Regions from separate parts of the Homo sapiens genome. Here regions 1 and 3 are each linked to region 2. The links are contacts of gene promoters, found by promoter capture Hi-C in human tissues and cell types (Jung and others, 2019). All regions are on one chromosome and are shown on one strand. Each heading gives the region's core, a stretch centred on a gene start or on the middle of the fragment in contact. The rest is flanking DNA. Distances are from core to core; before and after follow the strand shown.

Region 1 (4,917 bases), core at 1,413-3,912, 270 kb after region 2:
GCCTCTGTCCTCTCCCCAACCTGCAGCAAGTCAGCTCTGACTCCGGCGGGGCCGGAGTGCAGGGCAGAGGGGAAAGAAGGTGCCGCCAAGGCTGGTCCTTCAGTCACAGCAAAGGCCCTGTGGCCAGCCTAGGCGACCCCTTCCTGTGGCTAACCCTCCGCGATCTGCAGGCAGAAGTGTTTCTAGGTGCCCCACCAGCCGCTAGGCCCTGGGCCCCTTCAGACGTCCAAGCGCTGTTATGCAAATCTCCTCATTTTTCATTTTCTGTATTCAAAGTCGGCTGTATCCAGTTTTTTAAAAATAAAAATAAACCAAATAACAATAACAAAGCACTCTCAGTCTCCTCCTGCCTTCCATGCACAAACCCATCAATGACCTCTATAAACATGGGAGTCAGCCTCTCGGTGTTTCCAGCCTCACAATTACCCACGGGGATCCCCTCTCTTGAGAAGCTGTAGGGAAAGATACCTCTTGGCTTCAACACAGACTTGCTCCCTTCCGACTTGCCCGGGATCACTCTGGATTACTCCAACTGCTGACGGAGGACCACCCACCAAAACACAGCCTGGCCTTGGGAAAGCGTGGGTTCTCATTTATCAGGGTTTATTTATCCAAAATAAAAATTACTGTAGAAAAGTAAAGGAGGGAAAAACATCTTCCTCCCTTAGGAGGCTTTTTTGAATGAATCTTCTTCTCATTCTTTAAGGCCTTGGTTTAGGCCTTCCTATTCCCTGTGGTCCTTTGACATTATCTCAGCCTTAGTTAAAAAAAAAAAAAAATAGTGAATTTGATTATTATCAGTAACCAAAGGTTGCTGGTGGAGGAAGGGAGACTAGCTGTGTTTTCTTGCATGATGGTTCATTTGCACCGTGTGCTATGCTGGAACCAGAAGAACATGAACTGGACATCACCCTCCCATTCCTGGCCCAATGCTTGAATGCCCTTGTCTCCTGGCCTCTTTGGTTACTCTGGTGACCTAGTTACTCAGTCCTGGGTAGCCCTGGAGATGACTCTCCTGGAGGGGGAGGGCTGCCTCTCCCACTCCTCCAGGCCAGGGGCCCTCAAGCAGGGCTACTCTGAATGAACACTTTTGTTAGAAGGAGCCCTGGGAGATTCGTTTCTTTTCTTCTAACAAGATGTGTGGGTGGGAGATGAGGAAGTCCGGGCATTTATAATTCAGAGTGGTGAGACAGCCAAGGGGGGTGTAGGTGAGGACCCCAGTGCATCGCCCTCTCCCTAGATGTGACAGTCATCGCCTAGGGACCCAGGCTCTTTTCCTAACAGAAGCTGTACTGCCCGTTCATTAGAAGTGGGAGAGGGGAGGTGGGACCAGGTGGCACTGGGAAAACTCTCAGCCACTCCCGAATCCTGCCTTGCATCCTGCCTGCCAAACCATTCCTGGATCCTGACTCTGGGAGATGCTACTTAGGGCAAGAAAGCTGGCTTTGCTTGTGCCTGTGACAAATTATGGGATCCCCTAAGTTCCCAGCCAAGTCCAGCAGTGTACTTGCTTCCACTTGCTGAACACTTTCTGATTTTGGGGGAACTTTTAACTCCAGTGTAACACAGGACTGCACAAAATAACAGCTGCCTCACTAGCATGCAGTTCAGGAAGCAGAACATTACCAGTAGCTACTAAGCCCTCTTGAGTTCTGTTTCCCGGCAGGGCAGTAACTATTCTGACTTCTAACAACAGAATAGTTTTGCCTGTTTTCAGACTTCACATGTATCTAAATACAGTATATACACTCTTTGTGTCTGATAATTTTACTTAGTATATGTTTGTGAGGTTCAATCACATTGTTTGTAGTTGTAGCTAGCTACTTTTCATTGCTGTCGAAACATTTCATTATGTGAAGATGCTACTGTTTATCGCCATTCTCTGCTGATGGACATTTGGGTAGTTTCCAGTTTTTGACTGTTAGGAATAGTGAGTGCCTCTATGAATTGTCTTGCGTGTGTCTTTTGGTGAACATGTTTACACATTTCTGTTGGGTAAATTTCTAGGAGTAGAATTGCTGGATCATATGATATTCACAAATCCAGCTAGAGTACATTCTACTCAGCGTTTTCCAACCTGGTTGTACAGATTTACCCTCATACTGGCAGTGTACAAAAATGGCAGTTTCTCCGCATCCTTGCAAACATTCGGTATTACATGTTTTAGATTTTAAGCCGTTCTGGTGGGGGCGTGGGGGTGTCTCATTGTGGTTTTATTTCACCTTTCCCTAATAACTAGTGAATTGAGGATCTTTTCAAATGTTTATTGATTTTTTGAATATACTTTTTTTGTGAAGTGCCTGTTTAAATCTTTTGCCTTTTTCTTATTGATTAGTGAGAGTTCTTTGCATATTCAGATAGGAGTCCCCTGTGGGTTATATGCTTATTGTGAATAATGTCACCCTGTCTGTGGTTTGCATTTTTACTCTCTTAATGATATAGCACCTATTTTTGGCTCTGGTCTAGTGACATACTTCTGACCTTGAGGTTGTAGCACTGCTAGTCTACATCTAGGGTATCTGTGGCTGGGATATTTTCTTGGGCTCTGGACTACCAGGCCTGCCAACATGGTAAAATCTTTGAAGACAGAATCCAGGGCTGGTTCTGCTTGTTTTTCTCATAGTTAACTAAAGCTTTGTCCTTCCCAAGAATATTTTAATGACCCATTAAATGGGGGAAACTGCAATAGGACCCTTTGGATTTTACAGAGAGGGCTGAATTCATTATCATGCATCCCTTTTTAATACATAGTAGTGGGTCAGATCTTTACAGAGCAATGCAACCAGAAGAGTGTAAATTCTTTGAGTTTGGAAACATGCACAGTGTAAACCTGGAAGGAGAGCTGAGGCCTACCCCCTTTTAAAATCTCAGTCTAAGCCCTGCCTCTTCCAGGGAGTTTTTCCTGATTGCTGCTGTTCAGGAAGAGAACATGAGTGAAATGTGGGTATAATTTTGAACAATCCTTCTGGAAAGCAATTTGGGAATTTTCATTTTAAAAATCTTTACAAAATACAAGGTGAAAATAGCATAAAATTAGTTTTAGTTATTTTAATCATTATTTGTTTGTTTATTTATTTGACAGGGTCTCACTCTGTCTCCCAGGCTGGAGTGCAGTGGTGTGATCACGGCTCACTGTAGCCTCTACTTTCCAGGCTCAAGTGATCCTCCCACCTCAGCCTTCTGAGTAGCTGGGACTACAGGTGTTTGCCACCACACCTGGCTAGTTTTTAAATTTTTTGTGGAGAGAGAGGGGTCTCCCTATGTTTCCCAGGCTGGTCTTGAACTCCTGGGCTCGAGTGATCCTTCAGTCTCAGCCTTCTGAGTAGCTGGGACTACAGGCGTGCACCACCACCATGACTGACTAGTTTTTAAAATTTTTGTAGAGACAGGGTCTAGCCACGTTGCCCAGGCTGATCTGGAACTCCTTGGGCTCAAGCGGTCCTCCTACATTGGCCTCCCACAGTGCTGGGATTACAGATGTGGGCCACTGTGCTTGGCCTATTTTTCAGTGTTTTAAACCCGTTTGTATTTTTCTTTTTAAAGAGGTGTTATCTTAACAAGTTTGGGGAGTTAGGGAAAAAATTGAAAAGAAAAGGTATTATCTGTTTTCATCTTTGATCTATTGAGATCTTAGGAACCCTTTGTCATTTTATTTTGTGCTGCAAATATTTTTGCCATTCTCCCGTTTGTCTTTTCAAAACGTTCATTTTTTAGTTGAAGACACTTGATGATAATGTACGAAGGGGCCACTCAAACACGGGGTGGGGTGTTTGATTCCCAGTTGGGACTGGTCAAGAGCAATGTCAGGGCCCTAACCTCCCTTACAGCTGGCCCGAGGCAGTGGGGATTCCAGAGGACAGAGGCCTATCCCACTCTAGCCTTGTAGAGTATGAAGAGTCTGTAAGTAGCTGGCTTCAGAGACTGGGGAAACCTGGGGGACTGCCTTCCTTGAAGCTTCCATCCTGGGCCCCAGGCTGGCAAAGATGGAATGGAGGAGGGAGTGCCACTGGCTACTCCCAGGGAAGAAGGAAATTGAGAGCAGGTAATCCAACAGAAAGAAGTGAGGAAGAAGAGGTGCCTTGAGTTTGGGCTGGTGGGTGGAGGGGACTTGGGGAGGATCCAGAAGAAAGGAGAACATCAGCCAGGCGGGAAATCTGATGGGCAGACTCAGGCTCTGGAGTAGGGCTGCAACCTACTGCATGGAATTGTTTAATCTCCCTGAACCTCAGTGTTCTTATCTGTCAAATGGGATAATACTTGTACTTTGTCAAAAGATTATTTGTGAGAACTAAAGAAGATAACATTGTAAAATATAGCCTCAGATTCTTTGCCACTCTTCTGATTGAGAGGTAGGGTCTATGTCCTCCCGCTTTCAATACAGCAATTTTTCTACTGCCTCAACCAATAGAGTACTAAGGAAGTGGCACCATGAGACTGCAAGCTGTAGGTCAGAAAAAGCCACTTACCTTCTTTTCTGTTTACTGGAGCATTTGCTCTTGGATCCCTGAGCTACTGTGTGAGAGACTGACTCCCTTGAGCTGTGAAGAAGCTCAAGCTATAGAAAGAGGCCACAGGTAGGACACTGTGGTGGACAGTTCTAGCTAAGCCAGCCTTCTAGTCGTTCCAGTGCAGGTGCCAGATGTGTGAGTGAGGAAGCTTCCAGATGATTCCAGCACCTAGCTGATCCAGGTTTTGTTGTTGTTGTTGTTGTTTTTGACAGGTCTTTTTTTGGTATGTCTCCCAGGCTGGAGTGCAGTGACACGATCTCGGCTCACTGCAACCTCCGCCTCCCAAGTTTAAGCAATTCTCCTGTCTTAACCTCCTGAGTAGCTGGGAATACAGGCACATGCGGCCACACCCGGCTAATTTTAGAGACGGGGGTTTCACCATGTTGGCCAGGCTGGTCTCGAACTCCTG
Region 2 (4,786 bases), core at 113-2,612:
TGTTTTACCTTTCTTTTTCTTTCTTTCTTTTTTTTTTTTTTTTTGAGGCAGAGTTTCACTCTGTCGCCAAGGCTGGAGTGCAGTGGTGCGATCTCAGCTCATTATAACCTCTGCCTCCCAGGGATTCAAGCGGTTCTTGTTCCTCAGCCTCCTGAGTGGCTGGGACTACAGGTGCATACCTGGCCAATTTTTGTATTTTTAGTAGAGATGGGATTTCACCATGTTGCCCAGGCTAGTCTTGAACTACTGACCTCAGGTGATCTGCCCGCCTCGGCCTCCCAAAGTGCTGGGATTACAGGTGTGAGCCACCATGCCTGGCCTGTTTTTCTTCTTACCATTCTGGCTAATTTCTACTTGTCTTTCAAGGCTCAGCAAGGACGAGTTGGGTAGAAAGCCTTGCAGGGTCGTCCACTTACTTTCACACTGCATTGAGTCGCCTGTTTGCAAGGTCATCTGCTCCCCAGAATGTGAACTCCCTCAGGGGTGCCTGATTGACTTCTGTAACTCCAGAGCCTGGCACAGCACACAAGATAAATAGTGGTGCGCTAGTTAAGAGCTCTGGCCTTGAAAATCAGATAATCAGGGGTTGAATCCTGGCCCTGCCACTTACTATGTGACTTTGGGCAAGATCCTTATCCTCTTCCCTGGGCCTCAGTTTCTTCAACTGCAAAGTGGGGATAATAATTACAATTACCTCATAGGCTGAAGTGAGGAGTTCAACACGGGCTCATGCACTTTTTTTTTTTTCTTTTGAGACAGAGTGTTGTTCTGTTGCCCAGGCTGGAGTGCAGTGGCGCAATCTCGGCTCACTGCAACCTCCACCTCCCGAGTTCAATTGATTCTCCTGCCTCAGCCTCCTGAGTAGCTGGGACCACAGGCGCGCACCACCACACCCAGCTAATTTTTGTATTTTTAGTAGAGACAGGGTTACACCATGTTGGCCAGGCTGGTCTCGAACTCCTGACCTCAAGTGATCCGCCTGCCTCAGCCTGCCAAAGTGCTGGGATTACAGGCGTGAGCCACCGCACCCGGCCTGGGGCTCATGAACTTAAAGATCATGGCCCAGTGCCAGGCACACGGGAATTCAGAATAGTAAGGGACAACTATTGTTAAGTTCTCTATGTCTGTTGCATAAGTAGATGAGGCTGTAGATAACTACACTCTTTGTCTAAAAGGGCCAAGTTCTCATCAGAACACTTTGCTGAGCCCCGGGTGACCGAATCCCTAGCTCTGGGGTGAGCGACATGCCTCCAAGGAGCTGCAGCCAGGAGACAGCCAGGCGAAGGCGGGGCTCTGCCTCTGGGCTCCCCGAGGGGCGGAGGCCGGCGCGCGGGTCACGTGGGGGCGCGGGAGGCGGGGCTTGCACACGCTGGTCACGCGGTCAGCTATTGACACTTCCTGGTGGGATCCGAGTGAGGCGACGGGGTAGGGGTTGGCGCTCAGGCGGCGACCATGGCGTATCACGGCCTCACTGTGCCTCTCATTGTGATGAGCGTGTTCTGGGGCTTCGTCGGCTTCTTGGTGCCTTGGTTCATCCCTAAGGGTCCTAACCGGGGGTAAGTGCGTGAGGCCCGCCTTGGGAGGAACGGGCGGTGAGGAGCTAGCAGGCCGGGGCGGGGAAAGGCACGACCCCCACACGGGTCAGAGAACGTTGCATGGGCGCCCCCCGCGCTGCAGAGTCAGGCCCCCGACCCGGCGGAACTCCTTGTGTTCCTTTTCGCAGCAGCTTCAGTGTCCTCCGGCCTGAGCGAGTGGAGGGTGACCTTTGGTGGACCCCCCTTGGAAACGAGTTTCAGGGGAATTTTTTCTCATCATAGTCCTGTGTGGGGAGGTGCAGTCGGAAATGAGCAGGCCGAATCTGGGAGAAACTGGGGTTTGTCCCTAGTCGACTGTCCCCCTTTAGCCCTGCCTTCCACCCACATGAGGCCTCGTTTGCCTGAACTTAAGGATCAAATAAATAAAACAGAAATTGGCTTCTCTGCCTCCCATGCTGTCGCGGTTGCGTACAGAACAAGCTCCTTCGACAACATTGAGCCCAGGCCTTGCATCTAGTGGGCGCCAGGAGGCGGTTGGGGCCTGATCTAAAGCGAGATTAATTACCAAAGAGCAGGAGGTATTGTTGAGAAACCCCTGCGTCATGCCTTTTGGAGGGCGCTCCGGCTCTTGTATGTGAGTGTAAGAAGTGCTTAGAATGATTGGCTAAGAAAGATTTTGTTTTTCCAGACTTCTTTGTTGGTTAGAGCTTTGTCTCTTTTGGAATTAAACTTTTTAACTGTAGTATAAAATAGAGGCTTAATCTTCAAAGGAGCCTTGGAACACCCTCTTCCTGGTTCCTCTTTTGCTTCTCAGTCATTTTTTTCTCAGTTCAAGATGATGAGAGGTGAAACTTCGACTGAAGTCAGTTTGTCAGAAACACCATCTCTTGCTTTATTCTTGAACCTAATTGGTGGCTTCATAGTGCCTGGTTTTCATAGTACCTTGTATGCACAGGAGGCACCCAATAAATACCTGTTGAGTGAATAGTTCTATTGTCTTTATTAAAAGAAAAAGATTTTTGGCCAGGTGCCGTGGCTCACGCCTGTAATCCCAGCACTTTGGGAGGCCAAGGCGGGCGGATCACGAGGTCAGGAGATCGAGACCATCCTGGCTAACACGGTGAAACCCGTCTCTACTAAAAACACAAAAAATTAGCCGGGCGTGGTGGCGGGCGCCTGTAATCCCAGCTACTCGGGAGGCTGAGGCAGGAGAATGGCGTGAACCCAGGAGGCAGAGCTTGCAGTGAGCCGAGATCGCGCCACTGCACTCCAGCCTGGGCGACAGAGCGAGACTCCGTCTCAAAAAAAAAAAAAAAAAAGAAAGAAAAAGATTTTTACTACTTCCCTAATATTTTGTGACCTGAACCCCTTTTGCTCCCTGGGATACATTTGCTTTATTAGTCTAAAATTATTTTTTTTTAAAAGATACATGGTAGATGAATTTTTATCATTTTTAAGTATCAAGTTCCTCCTCCCTGGTAACACCAGTTATATGGGGTCATCTCTCCTACCTATAGAGGTTGATGGACAGAGTCAGAATTCTGGCATTATTAAAGCAATTGTATTTACCAAAGTTAATTAGACTTGTTTTTCCTACTGGAGTTAGCGAACAACAAAGTGCTTCTTTGTTGTGTTTATATCTTCAACTGTTTCATTACCCTACTGTCTGCCTTTATGGCCTTTGTACTCAAAGAAGCATTTATTAATGTACTAATAGCACTGACAATTCCTTTCTTAAAGACCATTCTCTCCCCTTCCTTGGGATGTCATTGCCATTATCCAGGGTAATGAAACCCATCCTGTTTCCACTTAGCCCTAGAGAGTGTCATGATTCAGGTATTTGACCAGCTAGTGATATATAGACATGTGTCACTTAACAAAAGGACTATGTTTGAGAAATGTGTTAGTTGGGCTTTTGTGTGAACAAAGAGTTTACTTAAACAGATGGTACAGCCTACTACACACCTAGGCTATTTGGTAGAACCTGTTGCCTCTAGGTAGGCTACACACCTGTACAGCATGTTACTGTCCTTAAATACTGTATAGACAAATGTAACACAATGGTATTTGTGTATCTAAACATAGAAAAGGTACAGTAAAAATACATATCAAAGATTTAAAATGGTCCACCTGTGTAGGGCACTTACCATGAATGGAGCTTGCAGGACTGGAAATTGCTGTGAGTGAGTCAGTGACTGGTGAGTGAATGTGAAGAACCAGGACATTGCTGTATACCATGGTGGACTTTAGAAACACTGTATACTTAGGCTACATGAAATTTCTGAAAAAATATTTTTCTTTCTTCAAAAATAAATTAACCTTAGCTTCCTGTAACTTTTTTACTTAAACTTTTGAATTATTTTTAACTTTTTGACTCTTGTACTAACACTTGGCTTAAAACACAAGCAAGGCTGGGCACGGTGGCTCACACCCATAATATGCAGCACTTTGGGAAGCCGGACAAGAGGATTGCTTGAGACCAGCCTGGGCAACACAGCGAGACCTTATCTCTGAAAAAAATTTTTTTTAATTAGTTGGGTATGGTGGTGCACACCTGTGGTCCTAGCTACTGGGGAGGCTGAGTGAGGGGGATGGGAGTGTTTGAGACCAGGAGTTCCAGGATGCAGTAAGCTATGATCACACCACTGTACTCCAGCCTGGGCAACAGTGAGACCCTGTCTCTTCAAAAATGAAACAAGTCCAGTGTCAGAGTCTGGGGAAGAGGCTGCAGGCACCATGTCCATTTTCACAGATGGCAGGAAGAAGCCCCTGAAACAGCCCAAGAAGCAGGCCAAGGAGATGGATGGGGAAGATAAGGTTGGTTTTTTGTTGTTTTTGTTTGTTTGTTTGTTTGTTTGTTTTTGAGACAGAGTCTCACTCTGTCGCCAGGCTGGAGTGCAGTGGCGTGATACTGGCTCACTGCACCCTCCGCCTCCTGGGTTCAAGCAATTCTCCTGCCTCAGCCTCCCGAGTAGCTGGGGTTACAGGCGCGCACCACCATGCCCAGCTAATTTTTGTATTTTTAGTAGAGACGGGATTTCACCATGTTGGCCAGGATGGTCTCGATCTCTTGACCTCATGATCCGCCCATCTCAGCCTCCCAAAGTGCTAGAATTACAGGCATGAGCCACCACGCCCGGCTGGAAGATACATTTTTTAAACAAAAAGAGGAGCAGAAGAAACTGGAGGAGCTGAAAGTGAAGGCCATGGGGAAGGGGCCCCTGGTCATAGGTGGAATTAAGAAATCCGGC
Region 3 (4,367 bases), core at 81-2,580, 360 kb after region 2:
TCGTGCTGCTGCTTCTGCCCAGGGGCGTCCTTCATGTGGGGCATCCTTCCTGCGCTCAGTCCCTCCACTCCCCTCCCCAACCTGGGTTCTGGTCTTGCCCTCGGGTTTATAGAGCAGATTTCTCAGTGGCCTGTTCCTTCCGGCTCATCCTCAGACTTCCCAGATTGTGGTAGCGCCTGTATCATGGGGAACTTTTGGCAGCTCCCAGAGGCTGCGGCGTGGGTGGCAAACTTCTCAGCAGGGAGTTCGAGTGACTCCCAGACAGCAGGTCCTGCTTCATGGGCCCTGTTTTCATCCCGTGGCCATCAGCCCTCTGACCTACCATTTGTCTAGGCCCAGGCTGCACACCCTCATGCTGCCTTTTCTTGTTCCTTATTGGGAGGCCTCCTGTGATGGTTAGTTTTATGTGTCAACTTGGCTAGGTTGTTTACCCAGTTATTTCATCAAACACTAGTCTAGGTGTTGCTGTGAAGGTATTTTATTGACGTGGTTAACAGCTGCAATCAGTTGACTTTAAGTAGAGAAGATAACCTCGATGATGTGGGTGGACCCATCTATTCAGCAGAAGGCCTTAAGAGCAAAAGCGAGGTCTCCTTAGAGAAACTCTGCCTTAAGGCTGCAGCCTCAACTTCTGTCCGAGTTTTCAGCCTACTGGCTTGTCCTAGCAGGCCAGACTTTCCAGCTTCTACCATCGTGTGAGCCAGTTCCTTACAAGAAATCCCTCTCTCTCTCCACACTACCCCCACTGCCCCGCACATATGCAGTTGGCCCTTGAACAACTCGGGATTAGGGGTGCCCACCCTTCCTGCAGCTGAAAATCCAAGTATAACTCTTGACTCCTGTATTAGTCTGTTCTCATACCGCTATAAAGAACTACCTGAGACTGGGCAATATATGAAGAAAAGAGCTTTAATTGACTCACAGTTCTGCAGGCTGTACAGGAAGCATCATTAGGTGGCCTCAGGAAACTTACAATCATGGCAGAAGGCAAAGAGGAAGCAAGCACACCTTACCATGGCCAAGCAGAAGGGGAGTGAAGGGGGAAGTGCTACACACTTTTAAACAACCAGATATCGTAAGAACTCACTCACTGTCATGAACAGCAAGGGGAAATCTGCCCCCATGATCCAATCACCTCCCACGAGGCCTCTCCCCCAACGTTGGGAATTATAATTTGACATGAGATTTGATTGGGAACACAGAGTCAAACCATATCAACGCCTCAGAAACATAACTACTAATAGCCTACTGTTGACCAGAAGCCTCACTGATAACACCAACAGTCCATTAACATACATTTTGTATGTTATATACTGTATTCCTACAATATTATATACTGTAAAATATACTGTATTCTGACAATAAAGTAAGCTAGAGACAATGAAATTTGATTCTTCTGAGATAGTGTGAAAAAAGAAAATATTAGGAAAATTATAAGAAAGAGAAAATACATGTACAGGACTGTACTGTATTTACCAATACCGTAAGTAAGTTCTTACCATCTGTTTGCAAGATGAATTGTCTATCTGAAATGTCAGGCAGCTGTAGCTGCAGACCTCAATCTACAGTACATCTCAAGCAAGTCGGCTTTTTCTTGTGATGTCATGGCTTTTCTCTGCTTCTGGGGAGCACTTCCAGCATCATCAGTGGCACCTCGTATGGGCCCCATGGTGTTATTTAAGGTTGCACTAAACACAGTGAAAAATACACAGGTACCACAAGAGATCACTTTTTACTGCAATATGCAATTTACTGGAGGGATGAACTGCTCACACGTGGACGATTGGTGTCACAGTCACACAGCATTTTAAGTGGATACTCGAAACACTTGAGCTCATTGCAGAAGACAGAAGATGTCTATATAATTATCACAGCAGTACAGGATGTACTACAGTCAATTTTATGCAATTATTTAATATTACATCTTTACATTTGTTTACATTTCTCTAGAATGTGAATGTGCCTGTGGTCGATTTTGTATGTGTAAGTTTTGAGAAATTTTAACTTTTTATAATAGATTGTGTATATTTTATGGTAATAAGTGATTAAATAGACTACTATCTACATGTTTTATGCATTCATGACACACCTTTTTTGTTTTTTTGGTATTTCTAGGCTACACAGTTAGTGAGAATTTCAAATTCAAAAAATTTTCCAATACATTTACTGAAAAATGTCAGGTATAAGTAGGCTTATGTACTTCAAACCTGTGTTGTTCAAAGGTCAACTGTATTACTGGTTCTGTTTCTCTGGCAAACCCTAATTCACTTACCTCCTCTGAAGCCTTCTCTGAGCATCCAGCCTCTAGGAGCTGTGCCTCCTGGCCTATTCCTGTTCGTGGATTGTCTGGATGCATCCTTGAGACTTTGCTCATGCAGTGGCTGTGGAGTTACAGAGCTTCAGGTTGCACCCTCAGTGTGGTTCTTGAGGATAGGTACCCCTTTTGTACTTACTGGGCTCTCCCTCAGCTCCTAGGAGAGATAAACACATGGTAGGTGGTCACTTACTATTTGCGGAATGAATGCACGTGGTGGGACTGAGTGGTAAATCAGGGAGAGTGGTGATTTTAAGCTGATTAGAAACACATTCCTGGCCAGGTGTGGTGGCTCATGCTTGTAATCCCAGCACTTTGGGAGGCCGAGGCGGGTGGACCACTTGAGGTCAGAAGTTTGAGACCAGTGTGGGCAACATGGTGAGACCCTGTATCTACTAAAAATTAAAAAAAAAAATAGCTGGGTATGGTGGTGCGTATCTGTAGTCCCAGCTACTCGGGAGGCTAAGGTGGGAGGATCACTTGAGCCCAGGAGTTTGAGGCTGCAGTGAGCTACGATTGTGCCACTGCACTCCAGCTTGGGTGACAGAGCAGGAGCCCATCTCCAACAAACAACAACAGCAACAGCAGCAGCAGCAACAACAACAACAACGAAACAGTAATCTAAACAGTTGGTTTATTCTTTTGGTGTTTGAGGCCAAAGGCTCTGAAATAGTCCTTAACTACCTTTTCTTCTTATTCTCCCTCTTCCTATCTCCTTGCCCAGCATGGTCTCCAAACCTAAAACAAACTTATATCTTAGAGAAAATTAGGAGATTGGTAGGGTTTGAATGTGTGTGTCTTTCCAAAATTCATATGTTGGAACTTAACACCCAAGATGGGGATATTAAAAGGTGGGTCCCTTGGAAAGTGATCAGGCCCTCAGGGCTCTGACCTCATAGGTGAGATTAGTGCCATTTTTTTTTTTGAAACAGAGTTTTGCTCTTGTTGCCCATGCTGGAGTACGATGGCATGATCTTGGCTCACTGCAACCTCCGTCTCCCGGGTTCAAGTGATTTTCCTGCCTCAGCCTCCCAAGTAGCTGGGATTACAGGCATGCGCCACCATGCCCAGCTAATTTTTTGTATTTTTAGTAGAGACGGGGGTTTCATGATGTTGGTCAGGCTGGTCTTGAACTCTGGACCTCAGGTCATCCACCTGCCTTGGCCTCCCAAAGTGCTGGGATTACAGGCATGAGCCACCACACCTGGCCTGATTAGTGACATTTTAAAGGGCTTGGGGGAGAGTTTACTCCTTTTGCCCTTCTATCTCTTCCACCTGGGAGGATACGGTGTTTGTGATACCACCCTGGAAGCAGAGAACAGCCCTCAGCAGACACCGAAGGTGCTGAGGCCTTGATTTGGGACTTCTGAGCCTCCAGAACTGTAAGAAATACCGGCACAGCTTGTTTTATTGCACTTTGCTTTGTTGTGCTTTGAGTTACTGGTTTTTTTTTTTTTAAATATGTTGAAGATTTGTGGCACCTTTGCATTGAGCAAGCATACTAGCACCATTTTTCCAACAGCATGTACTCATTTCATGTGTCTGTATCACATTTTGGTAATTCTCACAATACTTCAAACTTTTTCATGATCTATGATGGTGATCTGTGATCATTGATGTTACTATTGTAATTGTTTTGGGGCACCCCAAACGGCACCCATATAAGATGGCAAACTTAATCAACACAGGTTGTATGTGTTCTGACTATTCCACTGACTAGCCATTCCCCCATCTCCCTTCTCCTTGGGCCTCCTTATTCCCTGAGATACAACAATATTGAAGTTAGGCAAATTAATAACCCTGCAATGGCCTCTATGTGTTAAAGTGAAAGGAAGAGTTGCATGTCTCTCACTTTAAATCAAAAGCTGGAAATGATTAAGCTTAGTGAGGATGGCAGGTCAAAAGCTGAAAGCTAGGCCTCTTGCACCAGTTAACCAAGTTGTGCATGTAAAGAAAAAGTTGTTGAGGGAAATTAAAAGTGCAACTCAAGTGAACACACAAATGATAAGAAAGCAAAACAGCCTTATTGCTGATATGGAGAAAGTTTGAGTGG

The links. The method cuts DNA at HindIII sites, captures the fragments that hold promoters and counts their contacts. A contact is called where the count stands out against the background at its distance.
Region 1: a contact is called between a fragment that was not itself captured here and the fragment with the promoter of ATP6V0E1 in region 2, in 1 of the 25 tissues and cell types used here (aorta).
Region 3: a fragment that was not itself captured here is called in contact with the fragment with the promoter of ATP6V0E1 in region 2 in 1 of the 25 tissues and cell types used here (hippocampus).

Annotation. Positions count from the first base shown.
Region 1 is chr5:173,246,213-173,251,129 of GRCh38, forward strand. No RefSeq gene overlaps it. Among named protein-coding and RNA genes, the nearest start is that of NKX2-5, 13 kb to the left of the region's middle. The HindIII fragment of the contact is 3,285 bases long and covers 1,021-4,305 here.
Region 2 is chr5:172,982,409-172,987,194 of GRCh38, forward strand. ATP6V0E1 (ATPase H+ transporting V0 subunit e1) reads left to right here and starts at 1,363. Exons shown (of 4, transcript NM_003945.4): 1 at 1,363-1,556. The coding sequence starts at 1,453. RefSeq lists an enhancer at 1,178-1,472 and a silencer at 1,238-1,417. The HindIII fragment of the contact is 13,025 bases long and covers 1-4,786 here.
Region 3 is chr5:173,345,171-173,349,537 of GRCh38, forward strand. It overlaps MIR8056 (microRNA 8056), which reads left to right and starts at 2,285; the gene lies at 2,285-2,366. The HindIII fragment of the contact is 6,275 bases long and covers 1-4,367 here.